Linked DNA regions of Homo sapiens: regions 1, 2, 3, 4 and 6 are each linked to region 5. Evidence: promoter capture Hi-C in 16 types of primary human blood cells and fetal thymus (Javierre and others, 2016). All regions are on one chromosome and are shown on one strand. The core of a region is centred on a gene start or on the middle of the fragment in contact, and the rest is flanking DNA. Distances in the headings are between cores, read along the strand shown.

Region 1 (3,166 bases), core at 272-2,771, 230 kb before region 5:
TGTTCAAAGGTTCTGGCCTGTTATGATACTGGCCCTGGCATTCTCTCCTTCCTGCTTTTGAAGAGTTAACATCCCTTTTTAAGGAAATGATGTTGAGTCAGTGGTAGATGTTAAATAACATAGTAAGATACACAGATGGCAATTCTGTAGTATTTCTTCCCCAGTTTTTTGTTGAATGTTTTCTGTATGAAGTCAGTGTCTGGAAACCACAGCATGTAGTATGTACTTTTGCACATCCTAATTAAGAAGCAACAGAAGCACTGTGAACAGATTCTTGAGAGTTCAGCGGGCCTTGATGGGGGAAAGTCATGTGGCCATGAGTGTGTCCCAAGTGATGTTTCCTCTGACCTGCCGCAGCGCCCAGGCTTTGATCTCAGCCCCGTAGCCTTGCGTGCAAAGGACAGTTTTCATGTTTCCAGAGTGCGGTGGAACCCACGAATGGGAGGGGCATTCAGCGGAGCGCTCTGCCAGAAGTTCAAGGTTGCTTACTGATAGCTCAGTCTTGTTTTTGTTTGTATCGTGATTCCTTCTTAACTCCTTCCTCAGAGATTCCTTTCTCAAAAATGTATTTGCATGTTCCCAGTATTAAAACCTCTGACCCAGTTCTGTGGTTTGGTCTCAGTACTTGTTCTGTGCAGTAGTTAAGTCCTTCCAGCCATCTTGCCACTCAGCTTAGAAAAATACTCTCCAAAAACATGTCTTTAAGGAGTCATAGTACTTTCGCTTCCCCATTCAGAATTTTCCAATGATTTGTAGCTAAAAATGACATTCTGTTAATTTGCACTTTGCCCTCATGGAGCCGTTTTTAATTAATAGTTTTTTAAAGGATTTGCAAAAGAAGCATACACATGTTGAAAAATAATTCTAGCTTGTCAGACTTGTGTTTAGTAAATTGAGAAGGTCACACGATCTTTTCTTATGTCCCCCCACCACTTCAAAGCAGTTTGATCTGTATCCTTGCCAGCCCTGTTCTGTGTACACAAATGCATACTATGTAATTATCCTTTTAATAAAAGTGAAATCATAACCACACATATTGTACAACCTGTATTTTTCAAGGAACTGTATTTGTTATTATAACTTAACTGAAAGTAAGCCATTCTTTTAAAGTGTCTCTCTTGTTTTCTTTTCTCATGTTCTTTTCATTATTCCTCTTGACTAGACATTGATGGATGTCACCTTTGTGCCTCCCTTCTGACATTGCAAATTTCTGATAAACATAGCTTAAGGCTTGGCATAGTGGCTTGTGCCTGTAATCCCAGCACTTTGGGAGCCGAGGCGGGTGGATCACCTAAGGTCGAGTTCAAGACCAGCCTGGCCAGCATGGTGAAACCGTGTCTCTACTAAAAATACAAAAAATTAGCCAGGCATGGTGGCGGGCACCTGTAATCCCAGCTGCTCGGGAGGCTGAGGCAAGAGAATCGCTTGAACCCGGGAGTGGAGGTTGTAGTGAGCCAAGATTGCGCCACGGCACTCCAGCCTGGCTGATAGAGCGAGACTCTGTCTCATTTAAAACAACAACAACAACAAAAAAACCCCAAAAAACCCCCCAAAAACCCCCACATAGCTTAAGATAGATTTATGTGTAGAGATTTTATTTTGAGAAATAAATTACTACTTTTTTTTTCCTTGCATGCAAAATGTTTTAGAAAGGGAAAGACATCAATTTCTTCATTCACGTTCTAATAATTTAAAGTGAGTATTTTTTCCCAAATAGCACAAGACCAGTGTTTAGTTTCCAAAATTAAAAAAAAAAAAAAGACTCATTAATGGTTCCTTGAAGGCTGGACTGGTACCAGTCTGATGGCATTTGTGTGCTATTTAACTTGGGGCCGTTGGCGATTGTTGATGCTAACTTGCCCAAGAACAAATGGTAAAAGTTGATGTCTCAACATAAGGATTTTCCAGTGAAAATCTGGCTAAACTGTTGGTTGCCTTGCACGTTTTTCTTCACAAGGGAGGGCCAGGCTCATGGCTGGGGCTGGGATGGCTGTTCCCAAGACAGCCACTGAGTCAGGCTCTGGGTTCCCTTTATTGTGGAACATATGCATAGGTACAAGAGTGGATAAAACATAGCCGTTTAATAAATAGTAAAAGAAACATCTGTGTACCTGCTCATATCCCAGTTTGAGAAACAGAATGTGACCGGCTTTTTGAGAAGCACCCTCCCCGTGTGCTAGTACATTTTTAAGAGGCTTTAACAGAAAGTGACTTATTTATTTATTTTTTTTAAATCAAAGACCCTGTGCTAGGGAATATGGAGTTTAAAAGTTATCAATGGAGAAATCCCAACTGAGTGCAAATCACTTTTTTTGCTTTTGTTTTGAGATGGCGTGTTGCTCTGTTGCCCAAGTAGGACTGCAGTGGCACAGTCATGGCTCACTGCAGCCTTGACCTCCTGGGCTCAAGGAATCCTCCTGCCTCAGCCTCCTGAGTAGCTGTGACTACAGGTGTGTGCCACCACGACGAGATAATTTTTTTTTTTTTTTTTTTGTAGAGACAAGGTTTCACTATGTTGCCCAGGCTGGTCTTGAACTCCTGGCCTCAAGTGATCCTCCCATCCCAGCCTCCCTACAGGTGTGAACCACCGTGCCTGGCCCAAAATTGCTTTTTATTTATTTATTTATTTTTGAGACAGAGTCTCACTCTGTCATCCAAGCTGGAGTGCGGTTGCACAGCTCACTGCAACCTCAACCTCCTGGGCTCAGGTGATTCTCCACCTCTCAGTCTCCTGAGTAGCTGGGATCACAGGTGTGCACCACCACACTTGGCTAATTTGTGTGTGTGTGTGTGTGTGTGTGTGTGTGTGTGTTTTGTAGAGACCACCCTATTGCTCAGGCTGGTCTCGAACTCCTGGGCTTAAGTGACCTGCCTGCCTTGACCTACCAAAGTGCTGGGGTTACAGGTGTGAGCCACTGTGCCTGGCTGAAAAGTTTTTTTATAGGTGTTCTAAAATACTATCTTTCAAAATACTTTGTAGAAATGGAGAGTGGATTTTTAAAGAATTGAGGGTGCAGTTTGTGACCCTGCCTAGAGACAGGCTGGGGCCTTGGAGGCAGTCCATAAAAATGAAGTAGTAATAGAGCAAATTCTAGGATTGGGCATGGCTGGGTGAAAAATAGACTCCATTCATGCAGAGTACCTCCTGCTAGGTTTGTTATTACTT
Region 2 (3,511 bases), core at 720-3,219, 130 kb before region 5:
CCATCTCAACAATTGGAACTGTGCCCAGGAACAATTAAGCTTAGCTTTGACTGAGAACCTACTCTTCCTGCCAGCTCTACCTCAGGTTGTAAGTGAAAGAGCGAGACCGCGTGGAGGCTTAGACGCATTGTTGGGCACGAGTTTTGTTTCGGTGATGAGTAAAAATCCACCTGGGGGATGGGAAGTGGCCCCACACCTGCCAGCCCCGTGGGACACCAGACCGATGTCATGGACTGGTGTGTCAGGAAGTGCCATGGTCCTGCCGTGGAGGGGTCAGCACCTGCCTCCCATAGCACTTAGTGCAGTTCAGTCAGGACCGTGAGGCTCAAGGAGAGGGACTTACGCAGCCCAGCCTCCTTGCCCTGTGACCAGGGTGGCAAAAGGAAAGAGTTCAGTTCAAGCCATAGAGCTAGATTCCTGGTCCCCAGTGCTACAACCCTAGCCGTGTGATCTTGGACCTCTGGCTTTGTCTCTGTGAAAAGGAGACCATCTTAGAAGCCACCCCGTAAGGTTGAGATGCTGCACAGGAAGACATTAGTGTAATGTCTGGCACACAGAAGCCTCCCAGGAATGTTATTAATACTGAATTCTACTGTATCTACTTTTCTTGAGCAGTGAAGCTTACTTTTTGCTCTTTTAAAAGTAATTTATGCGTGCTGTAAGTAGATTGGAAAATACAGAAAAGTGGGAAAACCAGTTGCAAATCATGTAACTACTCAAAGCGAATCCCTGGGAGAATTTTGGATCATGTCCTTCTTACCTGTTTGTGTGTACGTGCAGTAGTTTCTTGGTTTGCTTTGTAGTTAATTCATAGTTATAATCTTACAGTTTATGTTGTATCTGGCATCCTTTCCCTTTACATAGAGTAAGCGTTTCCCATCAATGTGTACATTCTTTGGGTTTTCTTATTCTATTTAGGAAAAGCTGTCCTAAGGCATTTACATCAGAATTTCATTTCAGTATCAAGAAATGCTAGGCAAATTAGTTGTAACATCTTCCCCCACAGTAGTATTTCCAAAAGATGTACATTCCAATAGATATACTATTTCTCAAATGGTAGTTCAGAGGACTAGCAGCTTTCTAGGTAAATGAATTGAACACTATGTCAATTTTGCCATAGAAGCTTCGAGTGTTATTTTATAACAGAGACATAACAGCTTTTGACCTAGTTTGTTTTCTTTCTCTCCTCAGGACAATATTCCTAGTATTACTGTTTTCTCAATACGCCAGAAATGTTAAATTTCCTCTCCCGATTTATAAATCCAAGAAAGGATGGACTGCGTACAAGTTACAGCTGTTCAAAATGTTCCCTGTGAGTAGCTGACTTCTTCCCCTGCTGACATTTTTGCCCTTGGTTAATATGTAAGATGATTAAGTGAAGGGAGGGTTTTAAGCAGGCCCTCCTTGGGGGATCATATCTGTGCAGTGAGACCAGGCTACTAATGACCACTCAGATCATCATAGACTTAAACATTCTGATTCTGAAATGGGAGCACATCCTTTTAGCAGTGCCGAAGGAAGGGGACACTGTCCTTGGGACTGAGTAAGATTTGACTCCACGTGGCCTCTGCAGGCACGATGTCCATTCTTGTTTTACCAGCCAGACTTTGGAATGGGTAAGATAAGTTCACCTGAATGAAACTGCTCTCTCAGTGAGAGTCCATTCAAGGAAGGTCTGCAAAGTACTGACTGTGGTGGGCTCTGGGGTGTGATATTCCGACCGCGGGAAGACGTGTTTTTTGCCAACACCTGTGAGCCCTGCTGGCCTGACAGAGCTTCCCCTTGACCACTCCAGATCATCCTGGCCATCCTGGTATCCTGGCTGCTCTGCTTCATCTTCACGGTGACAGATGTCTTCCCTCCCGACAGCACAAAGTATGGCTTCTATGCTCGCACAGATGCCAGGCAAGGCGTGCTTCTGGTAGCCCCGTGGTTTAAGGTTCCATACCCATGTAAGTATTCTGATGGCTAGAGGGGTCAAGAGCCCACGAGGGCCCAACTGAGAGGGGTGGGAATTTGGCAGAACAGCCGTCTTTGTCCCAGACTGTCTCCTGAAGGCCTTGCCATTCTGGTCAGGAGAGGATTAGACAGCAAGTAAGGGAGGCCCTGTCCCCAGAGGGCAGAAACCAACACACAGAGACTGACCGGCTCCCTTCTCACATTAGCGAGCTGTCTCTTTTGGATCTGCTAGGATGAAATCCTGGACAAGGGGTCTCTTGCCAGGTTTAAGCTCTGGTGGCCAGGATTTGAGGGCAGCTGCTTAGATAGGCAAGTATAGAGCTGCTTGGTCCCAGAGCTGCCAAAGTGGAAAGATGTGAGTGGGAACAGCCTGGGGATTAGCAAGCAACCTGCTCAAGCATGATGGAATTTATATAATCTCTTAATGGGCAGCCATAATCTTTTAAATTTGGCCACAGCTGTAGAGGTAAGTTGATAGTCACTAATGGCCAAAAGCTGCATCTTAATTTGAGTGTTGTGTAACTGTTGGGGGTGTGAATACATTCCCTAGCTGGGGTGTCACCTGGACTCGCAGCTGGCCCCGTGTAGGTGATCCCAGTGGTTGTTACACACTTGGTTCCATTGTGAAGACTCTAGTCCCGGCGTCTGGGTTTTTATTAGAATTGGAGCCTGAGCTTAGTCAGGTTCAGCCCACTTCTTTCCCTGTGTAACCATCTTATTTTCATTTTTTATAATGACAAGGAGAAAAAGAGAGAAGCCAAGAATTTTAAGGTTGGGTTAAAGATGACTGCTCTGAGCATGTTGAATGATGAGTGTTGGCTGTTCTTTTTGTTCTCAATACACTTAGGAAAGCTTTAAAAAGTTTCGTCTTTCAGGCCGGGCGCGGCGGGACATGCCTGTAACCCCAGCACTTTGGGGAGGCCGAGGCAGGAGGATCACCCGAGGTCAGGAGTTCAAGACCAGCCTGGCCAACATGGTGAAACCCCATCTCTACAAAAATACAAAAATGAGCCAGGCCTGATGACGGGTGTCTGTAATTCCAGCTACTCGGGAGGCTGAGGCAGGAGAATCGCTTGGATCTGGGAGGCGGAGGTTGCAGTGAGTCGAGATTGCGCCACTGCACTTCAGCCTGGGAGACAGAGCAAGACTGTCTCAAAAAAAAAAGTTTCATCTTTCTAAAATAACTTTCTCATCAGATTGTATGGTCTAAGTGTGCATTTATACAGACCTATTCTTTTTCCAAGAAAGAATGTGCATGGTTCATAAACATACCTGTAGTCTGAGATAAAATGAAATTACAATTAGTTGGTGAGGCAGTCAGGGTGAGGGCGAGGCGGGGGTGGCAGGTAGGTAGAAGCCCCCACAGCGTATACAAGGTGGTCTTCTGCTTGTGCAGGCAACTCCCAAGGTGGGCGCCAGTAGGGGCACAAGCTGGGCTGTCCAGGAGAGGCAGCTGTACAGGTGCTGGGGCCAGAGGGAGTTCACTAGGACCCATGGGGCCACACACGAGAAGGCGAAACTTAGTAGACAGAGCGCCTGAGGTTGTGCTGGC
Region 3 (3,274 bases), core at 206-2,705, 160 kb after region 5:
AGGCAACTGTGGTGATCTTAAAGTATGCCCCCAAATTCTTTGACAATCTTCCCTTCAAAAGGCGTAAACTAATTATCTTTCCCTTGAAAGTGAGCTTGTTTTAGTGACTGGCCTCTAACTATGGAATGTGATGGAAATGCTGCTATGTGACTCCTGTGGCTAGGTCATCAAAAGGATAGTTTCAACCTAGCTCTCTCTCATCACTCATTCGGAGGTAAGCCAGCTGCCATGTCGTAAGGGCACTCAAGTATCCCTGGGAGGAGTCCACATAGAGAGGGGCTGAGGCTCTCCAGCAAGAGTCAGCACCAACTTGCCATCCAGTGAGTGAGCCACCTTGGAAATGGACCCTCCAGTTGAGCCTTCAGATGAGTCAGCCCCAGCTGAAATCTGATGTAACCTCATAAAATACCCTGAGACAGAACCACCCATCTAAGTTGCTTCAGAATTCTGAGTCACAGAAACTGTGAAAATAATAAAGCTTACTGTTGTTTTAAGCCACTAAGTTTGCAGTAATATGTTACTCAGAACTAAATAACTACTACAACAACCACTATGCCTTTAGTGTGTGTGTTTGAGTAAAGAAACAAGATGAGTTCCTGTGGCTGCTATGATCTAGCCTAATTTACAAGGGCTGGGGACTCCACAATGGAATTTGGGACTAGGGTGTCTTGGTAACAAACCAGGCTCATTTTCCTTGAGTGTCCATCAACCTAGATCTCTTGTGGATCTTGGGTGGCCCCTTCGCTGGTTGAAAGTACAAGAAACCATAGTCCCAGCTGTCTCATGGCTTCCCATAAGAAACATCACCAACCTCTGATATGTCTTACATTGGAGGCTTCTCTGTAGCCCCACTGCCACCTGGTCAAGGACTTATCTTAGGTTGGGATCTCCTATAAGCAAACCCTGAGATAAGAATCTGAGTATAAGTAGTTTATTTGGGAGATGATCTTAGAAGTTTCTGGTGGGGGAGTGGGGAAGTGAGACAGGGAAGGGAAGGCAGCCCTACAGGATGACTAAGGAGCAGATTAGTGGGCAGCTGAGGCTCAGTCATGCTGGGAACTTGGTGGTGCCCACCTGAGAGATGAGGAACCTGGAGTATTTATCATCTCTGCCCCTCTCTTGTTGAGGGTCATGCCTGGGGCTATTAACTCCTTAAGACTTCTGGTCTGCCCCGCACATAACCCTAGCATGGTTCAACAGTCAGAGAAAGCCCTCAGACAGTGAGATGCCCTGGGTATATACAGCAACAGTGAGAGCCGGTGGGCATGAGCAGGTTACTGACCACATCTGCTACAGAGCTCCATCCTATATCTGAATGATTGCAGCAGCCTCTCAACTGGTCTACTCCTCTTTGTTTTTTAACTTGGACCCTCTGATCTCTTGTCTACATAGAAACCCAGAGTGCAAATCTGATCAAATCACTAATTTCTTTTTTTGAATTAAATTAAAATTTTTTGGCCAGGCATGGTGGCTCACGCCTGTAATCCCAGCACTTTGAGAGGCCAAGGCAGGTGGATCTCTTGAGGTCAGGAGTTTGAGACCAGCCCGGCCAACATGGTGAAACTTCATCTCTAGTAAAAATACAAAAATCAGCTGGGCATGGCAGCGGGCACCTGTAATCCCAGCTACTCGGGAGGCTGAGGCAGGAGAATCTCTTGAACCCGTTAGGTGGAGGTTGCAGTGAGCCAAGATCAGGCTGCTGCACTCCAGCCTGGGCAACAGAGCCAGACTCTGTCTCAAAAAAAAAAAATTAACTTTTATTTTAAGGTAAGGAGTACAAATGCAGGTTTGTTACATAGGTAAACTTGTGTCATGGGGTTGTTTTGTACAGATTATCTCATCCCACAGGTATTAAGCCCTAGTACCCATTACTGATTTTTCTTGATCTTCTTCCTCCTTCTACCCTCCACCCACCGCCCTCCGATAGGCCCCAGTGTGTGTTGTTTCCCTCTATGTCTCCATGTGTTCCCATCATTTAGCTCCCAAACTTATAAGGGAGAACATGCAATATTTGATTTTCTGTTCCTGTATTAGTTTGCTAAGGATGATGGCCATATTTCTTAACACACGACACATTTCCCTGTTCCCTAAGGATGGAGTCCACATTCTTCACTAGCACCACACCTGTCATATCGAAACCATTTGGTGAACATTAACTTTTGTATCATTATTGTCATTGTTATTGTCATCATCGGCATCATCACCGTCATCATCATCACAGAGCATTAGGTGGAATACTCGTATCTCTGACTGGGAGGATCTCCTATTTCATGTTCTATCCACCCAGAACACACTTTCGTGAAGCCAGCAGCAGGTTTTCAGATATTTCATGCATTCTACCTTTATGACTGAATCATTACCTCTCTGAATGTCAGACTGTGTCTATTACTTCTTGTTTTTCCACCCTGCCTAGCCTAAGGATGGAAGCTTTAAGGGAACTTCATCATTTTTGGTTGAGATGTTCAATTAATTACCATCCCTTCCCATCTGATTCATAGTCAAGCCATCACCAAGTTCCATCAACCTCTTCCATCTCTTAAATCTGTCCACTTTTCCCCATCTCTAAGCAACCACCCAGCTCAGCTCCTTCATCTCTTGCCTGGATCACTGTGCTAGCTCCGTAATCATCATCCCTACATCCAGCATCACTTCTTCCCAATAGGTTCTCCACAAAGCAGCAGAAGTGACCTTTGAAAACCAACCCTAATCACATCAATTCACTTGTCTAAATGCCTCAGAGGTTTCTCATTGCTCTTAGAACAAAGCCTTAGTCATGTTCCTGCGCCAATGCCTACATGGATTGGCCTTTCTCCACCTCCCCTCCCACCTACCTTCCCTTCTGTGTTTGGATGCATGTGACACTGACTTTCTTACAGTCTCTCAAATGTTCCAGCATCCTTTCTAACCCAAAGGTTTTGAAAATACTGATTTCCCCATCTGGAATGTCCTCCTCATCCCTCTACTGCCAGTGCGTATCATCTTATTATCCAAATATCTGTTTCAATATTCTTTTCTTTTCTTTTTGTTTGGAGACAGAGTCTCGCTCTGTCCCCCAGGCTGGAGTTCAGTGGCACGATCTTGGCTCACTGCAACCTCCGCCTCCTGAGTTCAAGCGATTCTCATGCCTTAGCCTCCCGAGTAGCTGGGATTACAGGTGCCCACCACCACACCCTGCTAATTTTCATATTTTTAGTAGAGATGGGGTTTCACCATGGTGGCCAGGTGCATCTTGAACTCCTGACTTCAGGTGATCTGCCCGCCTCGGCCTCCCAAA
Region 4 (3,641 bases), core at 175-2,674, 160 kb before region 5:
GGGAAACCCTGCCTGCATCATGCCCTTCCTGACGATTCAGAGTACATAAAGTTGTGAGCAGCCCTGAGACATCCTGAACAGGAGTATTTCACCCCAGGAAACTCCTTTACAGTCGGGCTTCATGGGCTGCATGTGGCATGTTTGGCTAACGTGGGCAGGAATGGGAAGCTGCTGGAAGAAAAGTAGGAAGTTTGCAGAACAGAAATAAGAACTGGTCAACAGGGGAAGGGAGGGAAGTGAGTCGTGAGTGCTGGGACTATCCTACCAGGGCTACAGGTGTGGCGGGGGGTTGGGGGGACTCCCAAAGGAAAGTGGGATGGGGTTCTTTCTGGAAGATTCCCATGGCTACTGTACGCCCTTAACCCTGCCCTGACTGGAACAGACGAATTCTTTGTTTTCGAAAACAATGCCAGCTCACAGAAAAAGACAGAAAACACTCCATGCGTATGTAACTTATGAAGCTTATGTAACTTTAATCCCCAGACATGAAAGAACTTTTTTAAAGAAATAGACTAATTAACCTAGAAATGTAGATGCAAAATTCTGTATAAAATATTAGCAAATCAAATCCCAGAAGAAAAATACAGTATGACTAACTAGGGTTTGTTTCAAGCATGCAAGAATAGTTCAGCACATCACAATTCATGATAACAGATTAGAGGAGAAAGGCCTTATGGTTTTAGCAATTTATGCCAGAAAAGCATTTTGGGGAAGAAACCCAAATATTTCTAATAAGAATTACATAAGTAAAATATCACCAGTGCTGATATTGACTGTTTCCTTTGTGAGGCATGGATTCATCCAAGTAATAAGTAATAATGACAGTGAATAGTAAGACAATAAAATGTAATGAAAAGGAGAAATGCAGCTGGGCGTGGTGGCTCACGCCTGTAATCCCAGCACTTTGGAGAGGGAGAGGCAGGCGGATCGCTTGAGCCCAGGTGTTTGACACCAGCTTTGCCAACACGGTGAAAACCCATCGCTACAAAAAATACAAAAATAAGCTGGGCGTGGTGGTGCGCCCCTGTAATCCCAGCTATTTGGGAGGTTGAAGCAGGAGAATTGCTTGAGCCTGGGAGGTGGAGGTCACAGTGAGCCAAGATCGCACCATTGCACTCCGTCGAGGGCAATGGGAGTGAAACTGTCTTAACAACAAAGGAGAAATACTGAAAAAGAAGGAAAAAAGTATGGCTTGGTCGAAAAACCAAGGAGATTCTTTATGTGGGCTATTTTTTAACGACAATAAGAGAGAAGAATTAGGATGAAATCAAGAATAAATGAGGAAGGGTTTACTGTTTCTCCTCTGACCCTTTTCCTGCCCACAGCACTACCTGACATGCTTCAGCGGCACGATCGCAGTGCCCTTCCTGTTGGCCGATGCCATGTGTGTGGGGTACGACCAGTGGGCCACCAGCCAGCTCATTGGGACCATTTTCTTCTGTGTGGGAATCACTACTTTGCTACAGACAACGTTTGGATGCAGGTGAGATTGGGGTACTAATGGGGGATGCCAAAGCCCCCAGAAGGCATTGAGCGCAGAAGGCATTGAGCTGCGCCGTTTGCCTAGGGCTGTTGGCAAGGACAGAATGGAGGCACGGGAATGTCCTAGTGGCCGTTGGTCCCCACCCCTCAGTGTTCCTCCCAGTCATTTCCTCTCTTGGTGAATGGCACCACCGCCACCTTCCCCTACCCAGTTGTCCAAGCTGGAAACTCAGCCTCACTCTCCTTCCCCTGCCCCCTTGGCAAGTCATGCTCGCTCCCCAGCACCCCTCTGTGCCCCTATTCCTTACGTTCAGACCAGAGTGTCCCACCAGGCTCCCCGTTGGCTTCCCTGCCTCCAGGGCACTGCTCTTGGACTCACTTTGTGCCCCACACCCAGTGCCATCTTTCTACTTCCACACCCTCCTCAGGGTGAGCCACACTGCAGCTCTCCTCCCTTTTTACACACCAGGCTGCACCCAGCATTTAGGCTTGCCCTTGCTCTCTGCCCCACTTCCATCTCCAGCCATGCCTCTGAGCCCTGTCTCCTGCCTTCCCTGGCCTCACTCCCAAGGGCCCGCTGTCTACCTTCTTGTGTGTCTTCCCTCAACCCGCCTGGCACACAACAGCTCATCCTCCAGGCCCAGCTTGTCCTGCCCTCCCGACTCTGTGGAGCCCTTCATTGTTCTCTGAATTCCCACCTTGTTTTCATCCTTCCAGTGTGGCCTTTATTCCAGTTTGTCCTTTTTGTTTCTATGTCTTTTTCCCACGGTGCTTCCTCCTTGATGCCAGGGCTTTGGCTTGTTCACTTCTGCATTTCCAGCCACCAGCTTAAATGGACGTGGAGCTGGCACAGGAAGGAAGAGAAACATCCTTATCTACCTTCCTACCTCCTCCTGCAAGCTTGTCTTTTCCTCTCCTTTCCTGCTCCTCTCCCCTCTTCGCAGTGCAGCCTCTTGCTTTACCCCAGGGCACTGCTCAGGAAGTGGAGCCTGCTCTGGCAGGACTGTCCTAAGTTCACGGCCAGCTGTCTCTTGCTCTGTCAGAGACAGGCTGAGTAAGGCCTGGCCCTCCCTGCGGTGGGAGGTGGGTGTGAGCTGAAGTCAGGGACTGCATTCTGATGAGTCAGAATCCTTCGGGACCTCAGGGTTGCCCTAACGCGGCACGGGGATAGGGGAGCCTTGGAGGGCGGTGAGCCATGTGCAGGTGTTCTGGTTGCCAGGATAGGCCACACCCTGGGAGGGTAGGCTGCAGGTCTGCTGATGGAAAGAAGCTATGTGGACTAAAGGCTTTGGGGCTGGCAAGCTCTGATGGTTCCCAGATCCCAGCCCTTGCTAGTCTGCCCACAACCACCAAGCTGGGCTGAAGGGAGGAGGGTCTCCTCAAACCCCCCAGGGGGCAGGGCAGGGATATCACTGACCGACTAGGGGAAGGAGATGTGGTCTGGGCCTTCCAAGAAGGGCTCAACCTGACTAGCACCCTCTTTCATTCTTTGGGTACAGTGTTCAGGGCTCTGTGCTTCAAGTCCAGAGTGCACGGCAGAGCTTTTTTTGGCTCACTCAGGATCCTTACCTTGCCCATGGAGCACTGGTTCTCTGGGGAGATGTTCTTTTTCTAAACCGCTGACTTATCCGTGGATTTGTAGGCATAATCCCTCTGTGAATTTGGTCAGTGTCTCTAGCTGAGCATTATTGGTTGACCTGAATAGGGGATGAAAGCTGTGTTTATTGCAGTGAAGTGTGTACCGTGTGCAGCTCTGCCCCAGCTCATGCCAAGGAGGCCAGGCCTGGCCAGCAGCTGAGCCTGATGGGCAAAGTTGCTAATGGGACACAGAAGGGAGGGCCTGGGGGAACTTGGGGTAAATACTTTTGGTCACAGAGGGCATCATCTTGCCCACTGTTGGGGCACAAGACCTAAACAGAACTACCTGGGTCAGCGTGGTTCACCTCCCTGCTGGCCTGGGAAGCAGTTTGAGCGGAGTAAGAACAGGAGAGGGATTTGACACCCTACTGGGATGGCTCAGGGACCCAAAATGCAGAGCTGTGGCCTGGAGGAGGGTGCGTGTCTGTGCGCCCCATGCCCACAAGGCTGGGTGAAAGCAGCCTTTCTTGCTGTGTTTGTGAGGAGTCAGAGTGAGTCCCCCATGACCTTTGGCTGTGCAA
Region 5 (3,599 bases), core at 87-2,586:
CAAAAATAACATAATGTTAAATTCTGTAGATTCAATAACAGAATTTATTAAGAAATCTGCACTGTGAGGTAAATGATTAAACACTGACTCTTTCTCAACATTAGATAATTCTTTTTATTCATCAGAGAAATGTGATTTATGACACATTTAAAAGCATGTTTAAGGCCGGGCATGGTGGTGTATACCTGTAGTCTCAATTACGTGGGAGGCTAGGGTGGGAGGATTGCTTGAGCCTAGTAGTTCTAGGCTTCAGTGCGCCATGATCACACCTGTGAATAGCCACTGCACTCCAGCCTGGGCAACATAGCAAGATCCCATCTCTAAAAAGAAATTTTGTTTTAAAGCATGTTTAAAACATACATACACCAGCCTGGCCAACATAGTGAAACCCTGCCTCTACCAAAAATACAAAAATTAGCTGGGCGTGGTGGCACGTGCCTGTAATCTCAGCTACTCGGGAGGCTCAGGCAGGAGAATTCCTTGAACCCGGGAGACAGAGGTTGTGGTGAGCTGAAATTGTGCCACTGTGCTCCAGCCTGAGCAACAGAGGGAGACTCTGTCTCAAAAAACAAACAAACAAACAACAAAAAAACCATACATAGAAATGTTCCAGTAGAATACAAAGAACCACTTTCTAGAACTGAATGCACCAGAGAGGATTAGAAACCCACTTATTCTCTCCCAGCTTCAAGTATTTAACGTTCCTACTTTTGCACGTGGCAGCCTTGCTGACTCAGATCCGAGGGCGTTGAAAGACAGATTCACAATTTCTGGTCCATATTTGATGCAAATATTTAGAACTATCTAGCAGAGCTTGCTGCCTTTCCAACAATCCAGTTAGTGAATTGAGAATGTTCTCATTTAATAGAAATGAAAGGTAAACGAAGGATCCACCTGGCCATGGGACTGGAGGAATGACCCAAGCCATGCTTCATAGAGGCACAGATAGACACCCTCAGGGAAGCCGAGACCCTTTGAAAAAAGGGCCTGGTGTGTGTATTTTCACACTGCCCCCTGCTGGCTGACACTGGAACATTGATTCTTCCTGCTGACACTGGAACATTGATTCTCCTGTGGCTCTAAGACGACCTAACAGGATGAGGCCAGCGGGCCCCCCGCAAGGAAACTTGAGCTAGAGGCAGTTGGATTTGGCTGAGACGCTCTCCTCAGGGAAGGCCAGGTCTGGGAGTGGGTTTGAACAGCAGTGGAGAAATAACTTCCATAGGGCATGTCAGAGTAAGTTCTAGTGTTTCCAAGAGAATGGGACAGGATCTTAGTGGAATTTAGAAGCCAGGCAGGTGGAAAAGCATTGAGGACCCCATCCCAAGGGCTCGAGTCCCTAGAGACAGCCTGGAAAGATTGGGTGCCAGCTGCAGAGAGGAGAGCAAGGCGACCAAACGCAGGGTAAGGTCTGGAGGTGCTCATAGTTCACTACGGGACATGTACATGGAAGTGAATAATTATGTCACAAGGTGCCAAGGGGGCTAGTTACCTCACATAGGATCTTAGAAAAGGTCTCCTGGAGACCATGTCTGAGCTGGTCCTGAGGTGTGAGTAGGGATTCTCCGCAGGGCGGGGAAGGACTTGAAAGAGTCTGGCAATATGGAGCACATCAGGATTATGGAAGGTGAGCTTGGAGAACAAGGCAGAGTCTAGCCTGTGAAAGGCCTCTTGCAATTTGTTGAGGATCCATGACCTTCTCCCATGCATGGTGAAATGCCCTTAAAGGATTTTGAATAGATTTAAAAGACACTCAAAAACAAAAAACGGTAGATTCAAAATAGACGGTAGGGATCGCTTTCTTCCGTTTTCTTTGAAGGATCAGAAGTGTTTACCACCACCTGGATTGTTTTTGGGCTTTCAGGTGAGTGGGAAAACAAAGAAATTCATGCCTGATCATGTTGAGCCACTTATATAATGTTGCTTTGACACTAATGGAGATGTAACTTCTTTTAAGACATAATAGAATCTCCTAAGTGGGTGTGGGAGTCGTAAGAAGGAGGAATCTGGGCTTCTACAAGCAAGATAGCATGTATTCATTTATTCAGTCAGTCAGTCGCTGGATCGATGCGCTTAGCTTTGTGCTCTGTGCTGGGTGCTGTGTGGGATATAAAAGAAGGTGAGGCCGGGTGCGGTGGCTCATGCCTGTAATCCCAGCACTTTGGGAGGCCAAGGCAGGTAAATCATGAGGTCAGGAGATCGAGACCGTCCTGGCCAACATGGTGAAACCCTGTCTCTACTAAAAATACAAAAATTAGCTGGGCGTGGTGGTGTGTGCCTGTAATTCAGCTGCCTGGGAGGCTGAGGCAGGAGAATAGCTTGAACCAGGGAGTCGGAGGTTGCAGTGAGCAGAGATTGCACCACCGCACTCCAGCCTGGCAACAGACGAGACTCCGTCTCAAAAAAAAAAAAAAAAAAAAGAAGCTGAAATTCCAGCTCTTATCCCCCAAGGAATCTGTACATCTGTACTCTGCTTGGGAATCCACAGAAGAAGGAAAGAATGCCAGCAAAGTAAGATCATGCTGCATGACCTCAAGATAGATGTTAAGGACATTTTGATGGGATAAAGGGAATCTTTGCTAGTTCAGAGATGAGCTTTACTGGCTTTGAGCTAAGTGATAGACATAAGTGGGTGGAGTGCAACTGGGGAGAATTTCAGGCCTGGGTAAGGGCCAAGTGTGAATGGATGGTCTCATGTAGGAAGCCATCAGGATAGGCATAGCAAATCCAGGAGTCCTCTAACGATGGAAGGAAGACCTTTGCTGATGTAGGAATCGCATTGCAGGTCAGTACTCCTCAGTGAACCTGGAGACCCTGTTGCTTCCTGTTCCCTACCTCAAGGCACTCAGTCTTACAACTTTGGGCTACCTCTCTGAGACAGTAGACTCTGGAGATACTAGCCATATCTTCATCTTTAACATTCACTCAAGATGAGCTGATAAAGCACCTCTTTCATGAAATAGCCCTATAATTTCTATGATTAGAAGTTGAAACTACTCTCATCACATCTTTTGATGTTTATATGAACACTCTTCTGTTAAAAAAAAGATTGCCCTAGTTTTTAGGGCTAATATTAGATGTTTCTGGCATATTCTTTACAAAGCCTTCAAACTAAGTTATGGTATAATATTTGCAATTAGAAAAACAAATACCCAAGGCATGTTTAGAGGTATTTATATGTTTTCTGGTGTCAATTGGAGGTGGAGAGGCCACCAGTGCTCTGAATCCACAAGCTAAGATGAGCTACTTGTTAGGCTTGGCTGTTTGGAATTGTCTGTTCTTTGCAAAAAGCAGACGAAATGAAGTTATGGTAGTTAGTGGGATGAGTGGGCCACCCAGAAAAGTCAAAGTTCAGGTTGGACTCATTTTCTCATGTATTTAAGTGTCTTTGCCATTTGTTTACCTTCTCCTGTGCCTCCACCTCTCATCATTAGGAGATGGGACCAGCATGCTCGGAAGCCCACTCAGCCTATGCACTCAGCAGGTTGGAACTATTAGGGAAGTATAGCCTTTGGGAGCTGTCCTTAACCAATGATGGACAGATCTTGGTGTATAAATTCCCCAGCTCCCTCGCCCTGCAGGCAGCATAACCCTGAGGA
Region 6 (3,660 bases), core at 328-2,827, 180 kb before region 5:
TCTGTGGGTCAGCATCAGTTCTTCCTGGGATCATCGTGACAACCTCTGTGTGATCTCCCTGCCCCACAGCCTTGGTCTCTTCTGACCCCTGATTGCTATTCCTGCCTGTGCCTTTTGCACTTCCAGGACTACTTCAGATTTCCTTTCTTCTAGGTGAATCCCCACTTCTAAATTCCTAATCCCCACCCCCACTAACTTTTATTTGCCTAAGCTAGGTAGGCAGGCTTCTTAGTTTTAATGATTAGAGATAAAATATTTCAGATTGATTTCTTTACCATAATCTAAGCCCATAATTCTATTGGAGAAAAAGTTCATTCTTGCTAGGATTTGATAAAGTACTTGAGGAGGAAGATATGATATTGGAGGTTTCGAGGCAGTAATCACTCAGTTGTCACATTCCCCACCCTCTTAAATTGCCCTTAAAATGGATGTTTTTAAGCATCCATAGTTCTCCCTAGGTTTTACGGTACAAACTACATTGTTGGGGTGAAATGGAAGAAGCAAGAATGCTGATATGTTCTTCTGCCTCTTTTTTGTAGTTCTCATATGTGTATTTTCTGTCCCTTTTTCATTATTTGTGTAACTTTCTTCATTTACAAGAGAAATAAGTTCACTGCAGAAAATGCAGAATGGTAAAATGAGGAAAACAAATAATTTAAAATCTCACTAGCCAGAAAAACACCACTTTCTGTTATTTTGGTAGTAACAGAAAATATTTTACTGATATTTTGGGTGTATTTCTTTTTTTTTTTTTTTTGGTTGTGATTGTTGTTTGAGACAGGGTCTCACTCTGTCACCCAGGCTGGAGTGCAGTGACATGATCATAGCTTCCTGCAGCCTTGACCTCCTGGGCTCAAGTGATCCTCCCACTTCAGCCTCTTGGGTAGCTGGGACTACAGGCATGCACCACCACGCCCAGCTAGTTGTTATTGTTGTTTTTAGTAGGAATGGGGTTTTGCCATGTTGCCTAGGCTGGTCTCGAATTTCTGAGCTCAAGTGATTGGTCTCCCAAAGTGCTGAGATTACAGGCATGAGCCACTGTGCCCAGCCTTGATGTATTTCTTTCCAGAGATTTAAGACAAGTATTTGAGTGTTCTTTTATAAAATTCTCATCAACACACAATCTGCTTTATGAAGACTTTAACTTTGTATCATATCGTGGCATCTCAATGTTATTAGAAACAGAACTTGTAATTGTGACATATAGCAAATCATGGATCTAACTTTTCCACTTGCATTGGGACTTTGGATTGTTTCTAATGCTTTGCTATAATAAATAACAGCCTAGTTTATATTGACCTTATTGTATCTGATTGCTTTAATTTTGAGTTTCAGTGAAGCCAAACACTTCTGCCAGCATTCCTTGGCCATTTATATTCTTTCATTGTGCCTATTCTTCTCCCTAGCCCCTTTATTCCTGCGGAGTAATACTGGTGATCAAAGATACTGCATCATACAGAACAATTACAGAGAAGATCCCTGGATCTGATAGCACTTTGAGGGAATAGAGGGAGAACCAGCCGCACCACCAGCCAGATCTGTGCCTGTCATTACTGATAGCCCTAGGATAGGGGGATGTTTACTCTGTCTCTGTTTAGGGGGAGCAGTTTTTGTTGTAGAAGGAAGTGTCTGTATCTACAGATCTGTGTCTGTAGCTCCGTTCTTGCTCTTTTCACTTTCTGATATACAGATGATGTTCTGTATACCTGTGTCAGTGTATAAGGATTATCTTCATTGTTTTTTATAACTGCAAAGTGATCCATGGTATAGATACACCATAATTTATTTAATTACTGCAGATAGACATCTAGACTGTTTCTAATGTTTTGCTATTACAAATAGCACTACCCTGAATAACCTGGCACATAAGTTGTTTCACTCAGGTGTAATTGAAGGATAGATTTCCAAGAGTGAGATTTTTGAGTCAGAGGGGATGTGCCTTGGTAAGCTGAGGGGGCTACTCACCAAATTGCCCTCTGTTGAGGAATTTCGTCAGCAATGTGTAAATGCCTGTTTTCTTGCATGCTTGGCAGCAGAATATGTGGTCAGACTGGGCTCTTGTCCCGATTAGTAGGTAGAAAGAGGTTTCTCATTATAGTTTGGTGGAGTCTCGTTCTGTTGCCCAGGCTGGAGTGCAGTGTCATGTTCTCGGCTCATTGCAACCTCTGCCTCCCAGGTTCAAGCAATTCTCCTGCCTCAGTCTCCCAAGTAGCTAGGATTACAGGCGCGAGCCTCCATGCCCAGCTAACTTTTGTATTTTTAGTGGAGATGGGGTTTCACCATGTTGGCCAGGCTGGTCTCGAACTCCTGACCTCAAGTGATCCACCCGTCTTGGCCTCCCAGAGTGCTGGGATTACAGGCGTGAGCCACCGCACCCGGCCTCTCATCATAGTTTTAATGTATATCTTCTTATGAGTAAGGTTGAGCATCTTTTTACTGTTCAAGAAGCATGTTTATTTCCTTAGTTATTTTCCTGTTGGGATGTTAGCCCTTTTCTTGTTGGGTTTGTGTCCCTTCCATATTTACATTTTAGAGACATGGGTTTGTTATCTGTAATGTGTTAGCACCTGGAAAGAATGGGAGAGGACGGTCCGTTTTGGGTGGAGTGCTGTAATGTGCTGCGTGGCCTCAGGATCTGTTCTTGAATCCATCTGGGGACAGGATCCCCAGGGACATCTCTTAGAAACCTCACCTAGCAGGGAAGATGTTTGAAGTGCCCAACCTAGTGCCAGGCATGAATATGTGCCAGGCAGACAGTAGCAGTCACCAGCACCACCTGCCTGGGGTGTGGGAGGAGCACACACTGCAGAGTGTTTCAGTGTGGACCTTGGCAGACACATCACCCGCCCGAGCTCTGCTGTGGGCCGGCATGGGGAGAGGTAAGGCTCCTTCTGGCTCCTCTTGTCGCCCTACTGGGGGACAGGTGAGATGCAGCTGGAATCCCCGGGGTGCTTCTGGCTGCCACAGCCTTAGCCTTCTGGAGAAGGCAGCCCTAAGAAGACCAGGCTGGGCCAGGCGAGTGGTGGAGGCTGAGCCATCCAGCAGCATCACCTGCACTGGGGAGTTACAGGAGCCATCCTGTGGGAAGAGGCAGTGAAAGCAAAATTAGAGGCTTTGCGGCATCAGCCAGATTCAAGGTCGCTAGTGTCATGTTAGATCTATCGGCTGCTGCATCTTTTTGAGATGATGTAATCTAGATTGACAAGCTTTGGGTGTTTAGAATATGTTGTACTGTACTCACTTGAATTTATTTTTCATAGTGGTTAATTTTGAAATTTCTAATAATATTGAAAGTAGGTGGAAAGTTTTCATGTTCATAGTAAAGGAGCTTGCAGTAAAGGCTGGGAAACACGAATCTATTATCTTCTGTATTCAAAACACATTTTAATTGTGGAGTAGATTTGGATACAAGAGGAAATAACGGTGTGTGCACACATTGAGGAGGGGGATTAATAACTGTGTGTTACCTTTCTTTTAAAAGAATAGAAAGCAGAAATTTGGGGAACTTTATTACTATTCTGAAAGCGATTGGTTTAGTATAAAGTGGTTCTCTTAGCGGCCAGACACGATATAGTAAGTGGGAAATTGAGTTCTGAACACTCTCATTGGAGGTGTGGGGTTTTGCAGGTGCTAGTGCCCTCCGCTTGACAGGTGTCACGA

The links. The method cuts DNA at HindIII sites, captures the fragments that hold promoters and counts their contacts. A CHiCAGO score of 5 or more calls a contact.
Region 1: a contact is called between a fragment that was not itself captured here and the fragment with the promoter of PRNT in region 5, in 4 of 17 cell types (total B cells, megakaryocytes, naive CD4 T cells and 1 more). The highest score is 7.3, in total B cells.
Region 2: a fragment that was not itself captured here is called in contact with the fragment with the promoter of PRNT in region 5 in 1 of 17 cell types (M0 macrophages); the score reaches 5.1 in M0 macrophages.
Region 3: a contact is called between a fragment that was not itself captured here and the fragment with the promoter of PRNT in region 5, in 2 of 17 cell types (activated CD4 T cells and M1 macrophages). The highest score is 5.6, in activated CD4 T cells.
Region 4: a contact is called between a fragment that was not itself captured here and the fragment with the promoter of PRNT in region 5, in 3 of 17 cell types (megakaryocytes, M1 macrophages and M0 macrophages). The highest score is 7.1, in megakaryocytes.
Region 6: a fragment that was not itself captured here is called in contact with the fragment with the promoter of PRNT in region 5 in 2 of 17 cell types (megakaryocytes and naive CD4 T cells); the score reaches 6.4 in megakaryocytes.

What each region holds. Positions count from the first base shown.
Region 1 is chr20:4,970,946-4,974,111 of GRCh38, reverse strand. The region is part of intron 1 of SLC23A2 (solute carrier family 23 member 2); the gene reads left to right. Among named protein-coding and RNA genes, the nearest start is that of SLC23A2, 29 kb to the left of the region's middle. RefSeq lists enhancers at 226-535, 1-990 and a silencer at 603-803. The HindIII fragment of the contact is 5,275 bases long and covers 1-3,166 here.
Region 2 is chr20:4,872,377-4,875,887 of GRCh38, reverse strand. SLC23A2 (solute carrier family 23 member 2) reads left to right here. Exons shown (of 17, transcript NM_005116.6): 10 at 1,192-1,312; 11 at 1,796-1,952. Among named protein-coding and RNA genes, the nearest start is that of RASSF2, 51 kb to the right of the region's middle. RefSeq lists an enhancer at 24-173. The HindIII fragment of the contact is 1,688 bases long and covers 1,126-2,813 here.
Region 3 is chr20:4,582,459-4,585,732 of GRCh38, reverse strand. No RefSeq gene overlaps it. Among named protein-coding and RNA genes, the nearest start is that of PRNP, 100 kb to the left of the region's middle. The HindIII fragment of the contact is 1,949 bases long and covers 481-2,429 here.
Region 4 is chr20:4,897,397-4,901,037 of GRCh38, reverse strand. SLC23A2 (solute carrier family 23 member 2) reads left to right here. Exons shown (of 17, transcript NM_005116.6): 6 at 1,326-1,483. Among named protein-coding and RNA genes, the nearest start is that of RASSF2, 76 kb to the right of the region's middle. The HindIII fragment of the contact is 1,921 bases long and covers 464-2,384 here.
Region 5 is chr20:4,738,405-4,742,003 of GRCh38, reverse strand. PRNT (prion locus lncRNA, testis expressed) reads left to right here and starts at 1,336. Exons shown (of 2, transcript NR_024269.1): 1 at 1,336-1,404. The HindIII fragment of the contact is 12,166 bases long and covers 1-3,599 here.
Region 6 is chr20:4,918,700-4,922,359 of GRCh38, reverse strand. All of the region lies in intron 3 of SLC23A2 (solute carrier family 23 member 2), which reads left to right. Among named protein-coding and RNA genes, the nearest start is that of SLC23A2, 81 kb to the left of the region's middle. The HindIII fragment of the contact is 3,263 bases long and covers 1-3,208 here.